Regions from separate parts of the Homo sapiens genome. Here region 1 is linked to region 2. The links are contacts of gene promoters, found by promoter capture Hi-C in blood cells and fetal thymus (Javierre and others, 2016). All regions are on one chromosome and are shown on one strand. Each heading gives the region's core, a stretch centred on a gene start or on the middle of the fragment in contact. The rest is flanking DNA. Distances are from core to core; before and after follow the strand shown.

Region 1 (7,032 bases), core at 2,592-5,091, 260 kb after region 2:
CTCCCGAGGGTTAGCAATTCCCTGAGTCAAATGTTCCACTCTTTGAAAGGCTGGAGTGGTTTCTGTTTTCCCAGATGGCCCCAGACTGATGCACAAGCTGTGCGGCCAGGGGAGACAGCAGGAGCCCCCAGGGTTCCTGGTCTGGAAAACAAGAGGGTGATGGTCCCCCCAGCTGACACTTTCAACAAGGTCACTGTGACCCGAGGCAGGCCAGTCCCAGCATCTGTTCAAACACACAGCAGCCCAGCTGGGTCCTCGGGGAAGATCTCCTGCCTGTGGCCAGTCCTCTCCCGTCCTGCAGCACCCCTCAAGTGGCCAAGCAGCTCATTTCTACCTGTCCCCGGGCTGTCGGTTCATTTCCATCAGTGGACGTGAAATGTGCCAGCAACTGGACCCAGCCCGGGGGAGGCTGGCTGCATGCTGCTGGCACATGCTACGGCTGCCTACGGCCAGGGATGGCCGCCAAACCAGGGATGCCTGGAGTCACAGATCCGCCAGGGCCTGGTCACTCGTGCTGTCCAGGAGCCAAGGGCAGGAGTGCAGCCCAGCCAGGGGCTGAGGGCTGCCCTGAGGGGAGACAGGCCCCGTGAGAGCCTGGATGCCAGCCGCGGAGAGACCAGAGACAGGCAGGAGCCAGCCTGGCCGGGACAGGGTGGGCGTCAAAGGTTGGGGAGCAGATGGTTGGTTCAAGGGCTGGTGTGGGGGTGGAGTGTGGACCTAGCCCGGAGTTCCTGCTCTTGTGCCCGGGAGCCCATCCTCTGCTCACCCTGCTCTCTGCCCTACGCTTGGCTTCCTGCCAAGTCCAACCAAGGAGAGATGGTGCTGCTGGGGTGGGCGAAGGGGCCAGCCTCCTGCCTGGGCTCCTGCTGGCATGGGCGTCCCCCTGTGGCTCCAGCGCCTGCATGCAGACCCTCCCCTGCACCCCCGCGCCAGCCTCACCTGGGCAGGCTGGTCTGGTTCCAGTTTCTGCTGGTGGCCCGGCCTGGCTCTGCTGCTGTCCCCTCTCCCACTGTCCTCCCGCGGTGGCCGCTGTCTGGGCCTCACTTCCTTCTCCCGCAGTGGCTGCTGTCTGGGCTGCCTCACTGCCTTCTCTGCTTTTTCAGGGCTTCCCTCACCTTCATAACCAGCTCCCCAAGTCCAATCCCGAGCGGGGAGGGTCTTGCTTTCCCATGATGAAGGGAGAGGGTGGATGGAGGCAGGTCAGAGGCACGGGCTGGGGCTGGAGCATGCGGGGCCTCAGAAGCCATGGTGGGGGAATGGGGGTTTGAGTCTGAGACTCAGGCGCTATGGAGGGGGTGAGCCATGAGGGACGAGGCTCCAGTGTACAGCGGAACCCAAGCCAGGAGGGACATGGTAGAGGATGGGGCTGGTGCTGTGGGGAGACCAGGGAAGCCCAGGAGGCTGAAGAGATCAAGGCAGAGGCTCTAGAAATCCATCAGAAAGAGGATTGGGACAGATGGCCAGTGGTGAGAAGCCAGCAGGACTCGGAGGTGGGTGCTCCAAGGGAGAGGGAAGGGCCTGGGTCAGGGCCTTTCTCAGATCATGGCCGTGTGAGGGCCACCATCCCTCTTCCCTCTGCAGTCACCTCCGCCACCGCCCCTGTGTGTTTCCATCACAGCCTCATCAACACGACACTGGCAGCCTTAGGTATTTATTCACGTTTACACATCCACGTCTTTGTTCATCACCCGCTTCCCCACTGCAATGAGACTTCCGTGCATGGTGCACAGTAGGTGCTGAATACATGCTTGCTGCTGTAGCAGGGGCCATCACGGGTCAGCCCCAGCCCTGCCTCTCGCCAGCTGCATGGTGGTGGGCAGTCATTTACTGCGGCTGCCTCAGTGTCCTCATCTGTAAAGGGAAACCATGCTGTCCACTCACAGGCTTGCTCTGAGGAGTCGATGCCTTCAAGCAGCAGGTGCCTCGTTTCTGTCATTTCCAACCACTCTTCTGTGATTCTCCATGATGCCTAGAGTTTGCCAGATCCTCTGTCGGGCCCCGGGGATTCAGAATTAAACAAGACAGTCGACCTGTCTTCATGGAACTTACCGTCAGAGCTCACATCACTCTGGTCTAGAAGGCTGTCTCCTGTCCTGTCTGTCAGGTTCCTGCCCAAGCATTGAGGCCTGTGTGAAGCCCTCTCCCTCCTAACGCCCACTCAGTATTTCTCTCCCCCTCCTTCAGATCACCCTCCCTCCCTTCCAGTTTCCTAAGGCTGTGTGCAGGTCGTGGTGGAGTCAACATTTAACACAGGTTGCAGGGTTAAGTAATACAATGACAAATCCATGGCTGAATGTGTGTTACAACTAGAAAGTCCCTGTAGTAAAGAGAAGGCAGTGAGCCACTATCAGGATCACCTAGATTGTCACCTTCTGCCTCAGTCCACTCTGTGGACTTGAAAGCTGTGTTGAAGCAGTGAGGTTTGCAGACCCTGACGTGTGCATGCCATTTCTTCTTGATCCCTCCTGAAGTCGGCCTCATTATTCAGACCATTGTGTGGAAGAAGAATGTATAACGTTACATGCAGAAGCCATGGAGACTCCAGTTTATGGGAGATCTCAGGAGTTTTCAAAGGTCATTTTGATCATCTATCATTTTTACCTATGGGCTCACCTTATAACTCAAGCACCATGTACCATGTGACCCTCCAATATGTCTGGCCTTATGTTTCTTACAATCATTTCAAGGCTGCCTGGTCAGGCTATTAGCTCAGTTCAAGGGAAGAGCCATATGTCTTTCTTTTTAGTACTCCCCATTGTGCCTGGCATGATGCTGGCTTTGGGTGGGTTTGATAAAAGTACATGATAAAGAGACTTGATTGATGGTGGGGTTGGTTCATGGTGGGGTTGGTTGATGGTGAGGTTTGCTGGTGGTAAGTTTGGTTGAAGATAGGGTTGGTTGACAGTAGGTTGGTTGAGGGTAGGATTGGCTGAAGATAAAGTTGGTTGATGATGGGTTGGTTGATGATGGGTTTGATTGATAATCAGGTTGATTGATAGGTTGGTTTATGATGCATTTGGTTAATGGGTTGGTTAATGGTTAGGTTAGTTGGTAGTGGGTTGGTTGAAGGTGAGTTTATGATGAGTTTGGTTGATGATGCGTCAGTTGATGGTAGAGTTGGTTGATAGTGGATTACTTGAAGGTAAGGTTGGTTGATGGTGGGTTTGGCTGATGGTGGAATTGGCTGGTAGATTGGTTGATGATGGGTTGGTTGATGGCAAGGTTGGTTCATGGTCGGTTTGGTTGATGTTCAGGTTGGTTGATGGTGAAGTTGGTTGATGATGGGTTGGTTGTTGGTAAGGTCAGTTGATGGTGGAGTTGGTTGATGATGGGTTGGTTGATGTTAAGGTTGGTTGATGGTGGAGTTGGTTTATAGTCAGATTAGCTGATGATGCATTGTTTGAACGTAAGGTTGGTTGATGGTAGGCTTGGTTAATGGTAAGGTTGATTGATGATGGGTTGGTTGATGGTGGGTTGATTGATAATGGGTTGGTTGATGGCATGGTTGGTTGGCGATAAGGTTGATCGATAATATGGTTGGAAGGCTTAAGGCATAAGTGGGTAGGTGTGGGTCTGGGGCTAGGGCTAGACTCCCATTTGTCAGAAACTCCCAGTAGAATGGGTGGCCAAGAACGGAGATTAAGATGTTTTAGAGAGTTGGCTGACCAACTGCAGCCCAGTGTGCAGCGAACTCTCATGTCAGCCCACTGGAACCTCACTGCATTTGCAAATAGATGAGCTAAAGCTTTATTTTCTCAATTTAAAAGATATTAATCAGTGATGTAGATTTAGGAAATCTGTCTGTTGAATCAGTGGCAGAGTCAGATGGGTAGATGTGAGGGCTCTTTCTCCCCTGACGCCTTCAGCAAATACCTCTGGTTACCATTGTTCCCAGTACTGCTCACTGCTGTTCTTAGAGCTGCGAGATGAGGTAGGAAAAGCTTCCCTAATGCATCCTCAGGGCTTCCCGTGTCCCTGGGGGAGAGACGATGCCCCATGAAATGCAGCTATGGTGTCCGAGAGTGATATGCATCCCTCTGGTGGGACATGAGATGACTTGGGTAGAGCAGAGATGATCAGGGGTGGGGAGGAGCCAGGGCTTTGTGGGGTGGAGACCTGTGTGGGGTGCATCTCTTGGGGGGCTTCCCAGGGCAGTGGGCCAGGCAGGCTTTTGGACACCACTGCTTTCTTTCCTTTACTAGCAGTGTTTCCACTGATTTTTCTTCTTTTCTTTCTTTTATTTTTTTTCTTTTTCTTTCTTTCTTTTTTTTTTTTTTTTTTTTTTTTTTTGAGATGGAGTCTGGCTCTGTCGCCCAGGCTGGAGTGCAAGTGGCACGATTTCGGCTCACTGCAACCTTCACCTCCCGGGTTCAAGTGATTCTCCTGCCTCAGCCTCCTGAGTAGCTGGGATTACAGGTGTGGGCCATCATGTCTGGCTAATTTTTGTATTTTTAGGAGAGACGGGATTTCACCATGTTGGCCAGACTGGTCTCAAACTCCTCGCCTCAGGTGATCTGCCCGCCTCGGCCTCCCAGAGTGATTACAGGCGTGAGCCACTGTGTCTGGCCTCCATTGGTTTTTAACTGAATTCAGTTTGGTAACTGCTGAAGAGCTGGACGTTCGTTTCCAAGAACCATTCCCTCTGCTGAGGCCCAAAACTCTTGTAACTGACCCTTACTTCCATCTCTAGGCAGAGATCAGTGTGAGAGACAAGACTTTTCAGTTGTCTTAGAAAGATTGCATATCCAGTATAATGTCAGTGTGTCCTGTATTTGGTTTTATTCTTAGTTTCTGAAACATCTCACTTCCTCTAAAACAGCACTTCTTAAACCACATCTCTATTGCTGTCATTGGGTCTCTTCCCTTCCTCCTCCAAAGAGTTTAAGAGATGCCAAGTTGAACATAGCTGAACAGGGGGGTTTATTTTACCTGCAGAATCCTCAGAACTCTTAAGTGGCTTTATATTCATCCAAAAAGTCTTTTAAGGGGTGCAGAGAATGGAGCTTTTTCCAAACTTATCTGAAAGCAGAAACATCATTTCATGGACAATTTGCTAATAATGTCATGCGGAAACTGGAGTGTCACACACTTAGCGTGGGGAATGTGGCCTAGAAACTGAGTTCCCTTCACCCACCGCGGCTATGCGATTAATGGGAGTAGCTCTTGGCCCGTCGGTCTGCAGGTGGAGATGTTTGTTTCCATTGCCGAGAATGCTGCGGTGGGAATGCACTGGCAGCACCCGCCTGTTGAGGAACTTGTTTTGCCAAACATACTCGGCAGGTGACTGATGAGTGCCTACCCCTCCCACAAGGCCCCTTCTGCTGGCAGAAGATGCCTGTGACCTCAGCTCCCACCTGGTGGAGCAGAGATGGGCAGCACTGGGCAGCCTCGGGCCCCCGGGAGGCCCCTGTTCGCCCACAGCGTCCCAGGTGCCCTGGGTGTTGCCAGGCAGCGATAGGGAGTGGGCTCTGGGCAGAGTCGGTGTGAGTTCACCAAAGTCTCCACCTTGAGTTCCTCAAGCCCAGTGCAGGAGAGCCCATGAGGGTCAGGGGAAGCCAAGATGGAGGCACACACCCAGGGGACATCGTGGCACCTGCTGCAGGGAAGCCCACGGGCATGGCTGTGATTCCCAGGGGTCAGAGGTCAACAGCCTGAAGGTCTTCTCAAATATGGGAGGCCAGGCCCAGGAGTTGAAGGAAAAAGGTTTATCCATGGGAGAAGGAGTAGTGGGGCTCTCCTACCCCTAACTGCATGATTCTGCAATAACCAGAAACAAGAACAAGAAACCGCAGCCATTCTCCTGAGGGGACGGGGGCCCCATTTCTTCAAAGTTCCCTCTCATCCTCAGGGATACTGATGGGCTCCCCTGTGACTGCCCCTCCTCTCTCCCTGGGGCATCATGAACCTGGAAGGGGGATTCTTCCGTCTCCCTGGCCCTGGCCACGCAGTGCCCACCTTTCCCGTGATAGCCACAACGTCCGTGGAGAGGGAAGTCCAGCCCCTGGGAAATTGGAAGTTGTGCGCAGGTCCTTGCCTGCTGAGGCCTGAGCCGGCGTTCAGCACAGGTGGCTCTGCCCAGCCCTCAGCCTCTCTGCCTTGTCCCTGAGCCGGAGAGCACAAAAGGGCCCCTCCAGGGGAAATGCTGCTGGTGTCATGGCAACAGCTGTTTCACTCCTGAAGGGGGCCAGGCCAAGGCCCTGCCTTCTGCAAGCACTGGTTCTCAGAGAAGATACCAGGGCCTGCAGGGTGAAAATGAGCTCCTGCTAAAATGGGAGGCACAGGCTGTGGCGTCCAGGCTGCCCCTACCCCAGCCCCACGCACCCAGGAATCTAGCACGTCTGTAGCCCCTCGGGCGTGAGCCCACTCCGCTGTGAATCACAGTTGAAGGCGGTGCTTGCTGAGTGTTCGGGCTTCCCATGGCCCCCTGGCCCCAGGTTGCTCCCCGTGGTCCAGTGCACTACCTGCCTCACCCTGAGCTGGGGCCCCCTGGGCCTGCGGCATCTCCTCCCTCATTGCCAACAGCTCCTTACACACTCAGAGTGGCCTCCTTTTGTTCCTTTGTCCTGGTGATCGGGGAGAAGGCATTTAGACTCCCCCTACCCGCATGCCACAGGAGGAAGCTGGAGGCAGGCGTCTCGGAGGACGGGGGGACGTGGGTCTGGGGTCTGGGGCCTCAGTGCCGGACAGGGACAGCATGATGCAGGCTTCAGGCTTCAGCTGGGCCTCTGACAAGAGCCATGGGCCACAGGAGGAAGCACGTGGCGCCCTCCTGCACGTGAGCAGCTGGGAGGCTGCCCTTCCAGGCCTGTGGCTTAGGAGCCCGGAGCCTCCTGGAGCGCAGGGTCACATGTGTCTGAGCTTGAGGCCCCGACTTCAGAACCGAGGGGGCGCCGTCTGGATTGTGCGGTCGGTGAACTGCGGCTTCGGTTCTATCCTTTGTGGCCCTGCAGCCGCTTAATCCCCAGGTGTGTTCTGTTCTGCCTCATTCCCACAAGGTGTTGGGACCCAGCAGACACGGGTGCTGGCGATCAC
Region 2 (7,401 bases), core at 32-2,531:
ACCACAGAACACAGATAATGATTTAAGTGGCTCTTTTCTCTATTCTCCCACTCGGGGGTACATAACAGCTCCATTCTAGCAGCAGAGGAGAGAGAATAATTCATTACATGCAGTGGGTGTCGTAGGGCTGTGGGCCTTAGCACCCCTGTTCTGAGGCTGCCAACAATTTAGAGACCAGAGGCTCTATCTGTGCACACACGTAGCATGAATTAGTACCTGTATTGTAAAGGGAAAAAGTCATAACTACTTCTGCTGGCCTAAGCCGTCCTGGGTTAGACAAGCTTGGAAAGTGCACGACCATCACTATCATTCCGCTGTCACTGCACCATGCACAGTCCTGTCACCTTTACACGTGTAGAATGCATCGAAATCCTTCCAAAATTTTTAGTGACCTGCTTTTCCCTTGCTAAAGTAAACAGTAACTTGCTGTGTGCCCGGCTGCTGGGCGCGTAAGGTGCGTTCAGAGTCAACACACGGTCCCAGTTTCCAAAGCAAACTACTGGGAGATCAGACACAAGCTGCTGTTCGCGCTCGCCCCACCCCAAGCACCCAGCACTCTAAGGTGCCCACATTTCACACCCATCTGTTGCCTCCCGCTTGGTGCACAGTCCTTTGTGAAGCCCCAGGGATAAAGCAGCGACCAAGAGGACCCGGCCTGCTCCCCGGGGCTGACGCCAGCTGCGGGGACCCCGTGGGGCGGACCACAGTTAGGCCAGTGGGCTCCGGCTGGGTAAGCGCCAGATACAATCCGCCAAGCGGAGTGACGGACAGGGAGCCACGCTCGAAGAGGGGGTCGAGGCCGGGACCTTCCCCGCTCCCTCCTCCTGCCCCAACCCGCCCTGAGGACTCCGCCCAGGAAGCCCTGGGGACCCCGCCCGGAGCCCCCACCCTAGGACTCCCGGGACCCCCGCCCTGGGGACCCCACCAGCAGTCCCCGCTCAGGACTCCCTGAGACCCTGCCCGCAGCCCCCGCCCCAGAACGCCGGAGATCCCCGCCCTGGGGACCCTCCCGGAGCCCCGCCCAAGACGCCCCGAGCCCCCGCCCGCCCTCCAGACGCCGCCCCGGCCGGGCCTGAACCGCTACCCGCGGCTGCCGCTCACCGCCGTCAGGTCTGGCAGCCGGTCCCGCATCCCCGCCGGCCGGGCAGCGCGCCCCGCCGCTCAAGCCTGTCCCGAGCTGCCTCCGGCCGGGCCTCGGGCTCTCCGGTCTCCGCCTCAGGCCCCGCGGTCCCGGCCCGGCGCCAGCAGCCCTCCCTGGAGCCGGCGCTGCCACGGCAACCGCGCCCCGCGCGCTCTGCGCATGCCCGGCCCGCGCCGCGCCCCGCACCCACCCACACGGCGGCAGCGCTTTCCAGCGGGAGCCCGGAGGGGCGGGGCCTGGGGGCGGGGCCTAGGCGGGGAGGGGCGGGGTCCGGCCGAGCCCCAGGCTGGCAGTTCCGCTACACGTGCTGTTTGTCCCTTGATCTGCTTTTATGCTTTCACACTCATTGTTTTATTTATCAAAATATAGAGCATTCAACGAATAGTGACAAAAGAGCAAAGCTCCCGGAATGTGCTGGGTGCAGCTTTGGGTAATACATATGCCGAACCTTCTCTTTAAGGGTCCACGCGCAGCCTCGGGTGTGAATGAAGGAGAAGAGATCGTGTACCACACATGATGCTTACGGAGCATAACACGGCAGGGGGCGGTAACGGGAAGAGCGTCCGCAGGCCCAGCCCTGGGATACCATTCTGGCAGGAGAAACAGGCAATACAGACACAGACAAATAAATGATAGATGAGAAAAGAAAGTAAGGGCATGGGCACGGAACTGGCAGAGAGGTCGTCATGAAGGTGCAGGAGCTTAGGTGAACTACCCAGGTTGGGGGAACAGTCCCCAAGACCATTATCACCTCTGACACCAACGGCAAATTCTGGCGGTTTCCAAAACCACCTTCAAGTTCCATAATTTGCTAGAAGGAATCACAGAATACACTAAAAACTACTGTACTCACAACTATGGTTTCTTAGCAGGAAAATGATACGGATTAACATCAGCCAAGGAAGAAGGGCAGAGGGGGAGTCTGGGGATTACGGCGTGCAGCTTCAAGGTCCTCCCGTGGTCCTCTCCCTGTGTAGTCAGGCCTCATTACTTGCCCTGCACTGATGTGTGGCCTTACACACGAAGTACTGCCAGCCAGGGAAGCTCACTTGAGCCACAGTGTGCAGAACGTTTACTGGGCTCCATTGCATGTGCATGATTGATTGATTGTTTGATTGCTTTCATGCTTGATCTCAGCCTCTTGGTTAAGTGATATCCATGTAACCCTAAGCCCCCACCATAAATCACACTGTTACTCTCTGGCTAGCCGAAGACTCCCAGGCAAACAAAGATTGCCTTCCAGGAGGAGAAGGCAAGGCCAGATTTGTTTTTAAACAAGGTTAAAGTCTTTACTGCCTCCTGGAGGAGGTGGCTTTGGTCTGACCAGAAGGCAGCGCTAAGAAATCTGCTTGAGAGCAACAGGCTACACATTAAAAAACAGGACGTTTTGGACTTGGTTCTAGGTGTGATGTGGTTCTGTTACCCGATGGAAGGTCTTGACAGCCAGTTGTCCAGGTGAGTGTGGTGGCGGGCACCTGTAATCCCAGCTACTCAGGAGGCTGATGCATGAGAATTGCTTGAACCCGGGAGGTGGAGCTTGCAGTGAGCCAAGATCGCACCACTGCACTCCAGCCTGGACAGTAAAGCGAGACTCCGTCTCCAAAAAAAAAAAAAAGATATGTTTTTTCTCTCCATATCCTGAACTTCCCCACCAGAATGCCTCCTGGACCCCGCAACAGGCAAGTGCTTTTCTTTCGGCCTTCTTGCCTCTGCCACCACCATTTTAATTCTCCCTCTCTGGTAAATACTGGGCCCTCCCTCGTTTCTCCCTCTCTCCCAGTGGATTTTTCAAAAACATATGATAATATTGGCAGCAGCTGGATGGTGTTGAATTGGCAACCAAAACTTTTTGTTTGTTTGTTTGTTTGTTTGAGACAGAGTCTTATTCTGTCTCCCAGACTGGAGTGCAGTGGCATGGTCATAGTCCACTGCCGCCTTGAACTCCTGGGCTCAAGTAATCCTCCCACCTCAGCCTCCAAAAGCACAGGGACCACAGACATGAGCCCACCATGCCCAACCTCAAAACTTTCCTTATCCTGCCAGAGAAAAAAAATGAAGTTGTGAATAATCGTTGTGGGAATTCAGGGACCCTGAATGGAGGGACCGGCTGAAGCCATGGAAGAAGAACATAAATTATGAAGATTTCATGGACATTTATTAGTTCCCCAAATTAATACTTTTATAATTTCTTATGCCTGTCTTTACTGTAATCTCTGAACATAAATTGTGAAGATTTCATGGACACTTATCACTTCCCCAGTCAATACCCTTGTGATTTCCTAGGCCTGTCTTTACTTTAATCTCTTAATCCCATCATCTTCGTAAGCTGAGGAGGATGTATGTCGCCTCAGGACCCTGTGATGATTTTGTTAACTGCACAAATTGTTTGTAGAGCATGTGTGTTTGAACAATATGAAATCTGGGCACCTAGAAAAAAGAACAGGATAACAGCAATGTTCAGGGAACAAGAGAGATAACCTTAAACTCTGACTGCCGGTGAGCCAGGCGGAACAGAGCCGTATTTCTCTTCTTTCAAAAGCAAATGGGAGAAATATTGCTGAATTCTTTTTCTCAGCAAGGAACATCCCTGAGAAAGAGAAAGCATCCCTGAGGGTAGGCCTCTGAAATGGCCGCTTTGGGGGTGGCTGGGCATGGTGGCATGTGCCTGTAGACTACTCAGGAGGCTGAGGCAGGAGGATTGCTTGAGCCCAGGAGGTTAAGGCTGAAGTGAGCTGTGACTGTGCCACTGCACTCCAGCCTGGGCAACAGAGTGAGACCCTGTCTAAAAAAATATATATATACACATACACACATGCACTATAAATATATAGTATATACATACTATACACACACATATAGTGTATACATGCTATATACACACATATAGTACATACAAGCTATATGTATATACAGATCGCAGCTGTAGGGATGAAATAAGCCCCAGTCTCCTGTAGCCCTCCCAGGCTTATTAGGACGAGGAAATTCCCGCCTAATAAATTTTGGTCAGACCAGTTGTCTGCTCTCAAACCCTGTTTCCTGATAAGATGTTATCAATGACAGTGCCTGCCCGAAACTTCATTAGCAATTCTAATTTCTCCCCGGTCCTGTGGTCCTGTGATCTCGCCCTGCCTCCATTTACCTTGTGATATTCTATTACCTTGTGAAGCATGTGATCTCTGTGACCCACACCCTATTTGTACACTCCCTCCCCTTTTGAAAATCGCTTATAAAAACTTGCTAGTTTTATGGCTCAGGGGGCATCACGGAACCTGCCGACATGTGATGTCTCCCCCAGACACCCAGCTTTAAAATTTCTCTCTTTTGTACTCTGTCCCTTTATTTCTCAGACCGGCCAACACTTAGGGGAAATAGAAAATAACCTACGTGAAATATTGGGGATGAATTTTGCCCAATATCTGGCTGAATTTCCCCTGATAAATAATAATGTGTAATTTATCATTTTTGTTCATATTACATACATACATATGCAGTCAAGGTGTTTTTGGGGTCAAAACATCAACCAGATCACAACAGTGCGTTCAAAACACCATCATAACAGCCAAACACTAAAATTGAATGAAATCTACATGGAGGCTGAGGTGGGAGGATTGCTTGAGCCCAGGAGTTGGAGGCTGCAGTAAGCTGTGATCATGCAACTGCTCTCCAGCCGGGTCCACAGAGCAAGACCCTGTTTCTAAAAAATAAATAAATAAATAAATAAATGTTTAAAAAACTTAAAGAAGAAAACGCGAAAGAGGCAGAGGAAGAGGAAGAAGGAAAAAAGAGAGGAAGAAGGAAAAAAGAAGGAAGAAAGAAAAAAGGAAGGAAGGAGAAAAAAGGAAAAAGAAAGGAAGGAAGGAAGGAGAAAGGAAATATGGAAGAAAGAAAGAAAGAAGAAGGAAGGAAGGAAGGAAGGAAGAAAGAAAGAAAGAAAGAAAGAAAGAAAGAAAGAAAGAAAGAAAGAAAGAAAGAAAGAAAGAAAAGAGAAACAAAGGGCTAAGTTACATTCCCGAGAAAATCTGACTGGAGCCTGGGCAACATAGCAAAACACTGTCTCTGCAAAAAATTTTTAAAAATTAGCTGGGCATGGTGGCATGTGCCTGTAGGTTACTCAGGAGGCTGACGCAGGAGGATTGCTTGAGCCCAGGAGGTCAAGGCTGAAGTGAGCTGTGATTGTGCCACTGCACTCCAGCCTGGGCAACAGAATGAGACCCTGTCTAAATATATATATAATATATATTACATATATATATAATTTATATATATATTATATATATTATATATACATTATATATATAATATATATAATTTATATATATATATTATATATTATATATACATTATATATATAATATATATAATATATATATACACACACATCCACTGTAAATATATAGTATATACATACTATATGCACACATATAGTATATACATGCTATATACACACATATAGTACATATAAGCTATATACACCCATATAGTACATACAAGTGGTATACACACACATATAGGATATACATGCTATATATACTCATATAGTACGTGCTACATATACACATATATAGTATATACTATATAGTATGTATATGCTACATAGTATATAGTATATACACACATATGTATATAGTATATACATGTAGTATATATACACATATGTATGTATGTATATATGTATATATAGTATATATTGTATATATACTACGTATATATAGTATATATTGTATGTATACTACGTATATATAGTATATATTGTATGTATACTACGTATATATAGTATATATTGTATGTATACTACGTATATATAGTATATGTCGTATATATCATATATATACTATGTATATATAGTATATATCGTATATATCATATATATACTATGTATATATAGTATATATCGTATATATGCTACGTATATATCTTATATATGCTACGTATATATAGTATATATTGTGTATATACTACTGTATATATGGTATATGTTGTGTATATACTACTGTATATAGTACATATACAATATATACTATATATGTATATACAGAATATATACATATATGTATATACACAATATATACATATATGTGTATACACAGCATATATTTTATATGTATATACACAGTATATACTGTATATGTATATATATACACACAGTATGTACTGTATATGTATATATACAGTATATACTATATATGTATATATACTGTATATACTATATACTGTATATTCTATAATACAGTATGTACATGCTATTTATCGTATGTATATACTATAATACAGTGTATACATGCTATTTATCGTATGTATATACTATAATACAGTGTATACATGCTATTTATTGTATGTATATACTATAATACAGTATATACATGCTATTTATCATATGTATATACTATATTTGTGTATAGTATGTATATACTATATGTGTGTATAGTATGTATATACTATATGTGTGTATAGTATGTATATACTATATGTGTGTATAGTATGTATATACTATATATGTATAGTGTGCATGTGTGTGTGCATGTGTGTGTGTATATATGTATGTTTTTTTTAGCCAGGGTCTCTGTTGCCTAGGCTGGAGTGCAGTGGCACAATCACAGCTCACTTCAGCCTTGACCTCCTGGGCTCAAGCAATCCTCCTGCCTCAGCCTCCTGAGTAGCTTACAGGCACATGCCACCATGCCCAGCATATACATATAGTATGTATATTCTGTATGTATAATATGTATATACTATATATGTATGTATAACGGGTCAAGTGCTCCGTTTAACTGTGATTCTAGGACTTTCTATGCTGGCCCAACTCTGGCATCTTGCACCACTTTCCCATGATTCTTCCCTTAGGGTGGCCTGCCCGCATGTGTAGTGCTTTCTTCATGCTGGGGAAGTGAGCATGTGCAGTATGTTTAGCAAGCTGTACGCATGCCCATCTGAGACTTTCTTCCCTTTCCTAGCAGAGAGCCCCACAGGAGGTCATACTCCGCCATTTTGTCTCTTAATGCAAATGCTCAGACTCCCTTGCCCAATACCTGAGATTTTATTAGAATCCCTTTCTGCTTCTCCTGGCACTTGCCTTCAATTAACACTCTAATATAACCGCTGCAGACCATCAGGAGATTGTCTCTCGCTGGCGCCAGCTGCTGAATTATCATTTTGAGAGAGGCAGTGTGATCATTGTTGAACCAGCACCTGATGGTCTCCTGACATTCCTGGTGGGTCAGGGGAGAGCCCTCTCCTGCCCCACTCATGCCTGTCTACCTGTA

Evidence for each region. Contacts are between HindIII fragments. The CHiCAGO score rates a contact against its expected background, and 5 or more counts as called.
Region 1: a fragment that was not itself captured here is called in contact with the fragment with the promoter of STX2 in region 2 in 5 of 17 cell types (naive CD4 T cells, total CD8 T cells, naive CD8 T cells and 2 more); the score reaches 7.8 in naive CD4 T cells.

The regions. Positions count from the first base shown.
Region 1 is chr12:131,097,115-131,104,146 of GRCh38, forward strand. All of the region lies in intron 15 of ADGRD1 (adhesion G protein-coupled receptor D1), which reads left to right. Among named protein-coding and RNA genes, the nearest start is that of LINC01257, 64 kb to the right of the region's middle. The HindIII fragment of the contact is 196 bases long and covers 3,744-3,939 here.
Region 2 is chr12:130,837,969-130,845,369 of GRCh38, forward strand. STX2 (syntaxin 2) reads right to left here and starts at 1,282. Exons shown (of 11, transcript NM_194356.4): 1 at 1,102-1,282. The coding sequence starts at 1,131. RefSeq lists silencers at 846-905, 976-1,485. The HindIII fragment of the contact is 18,553 bases long and covers 280-7,401 here.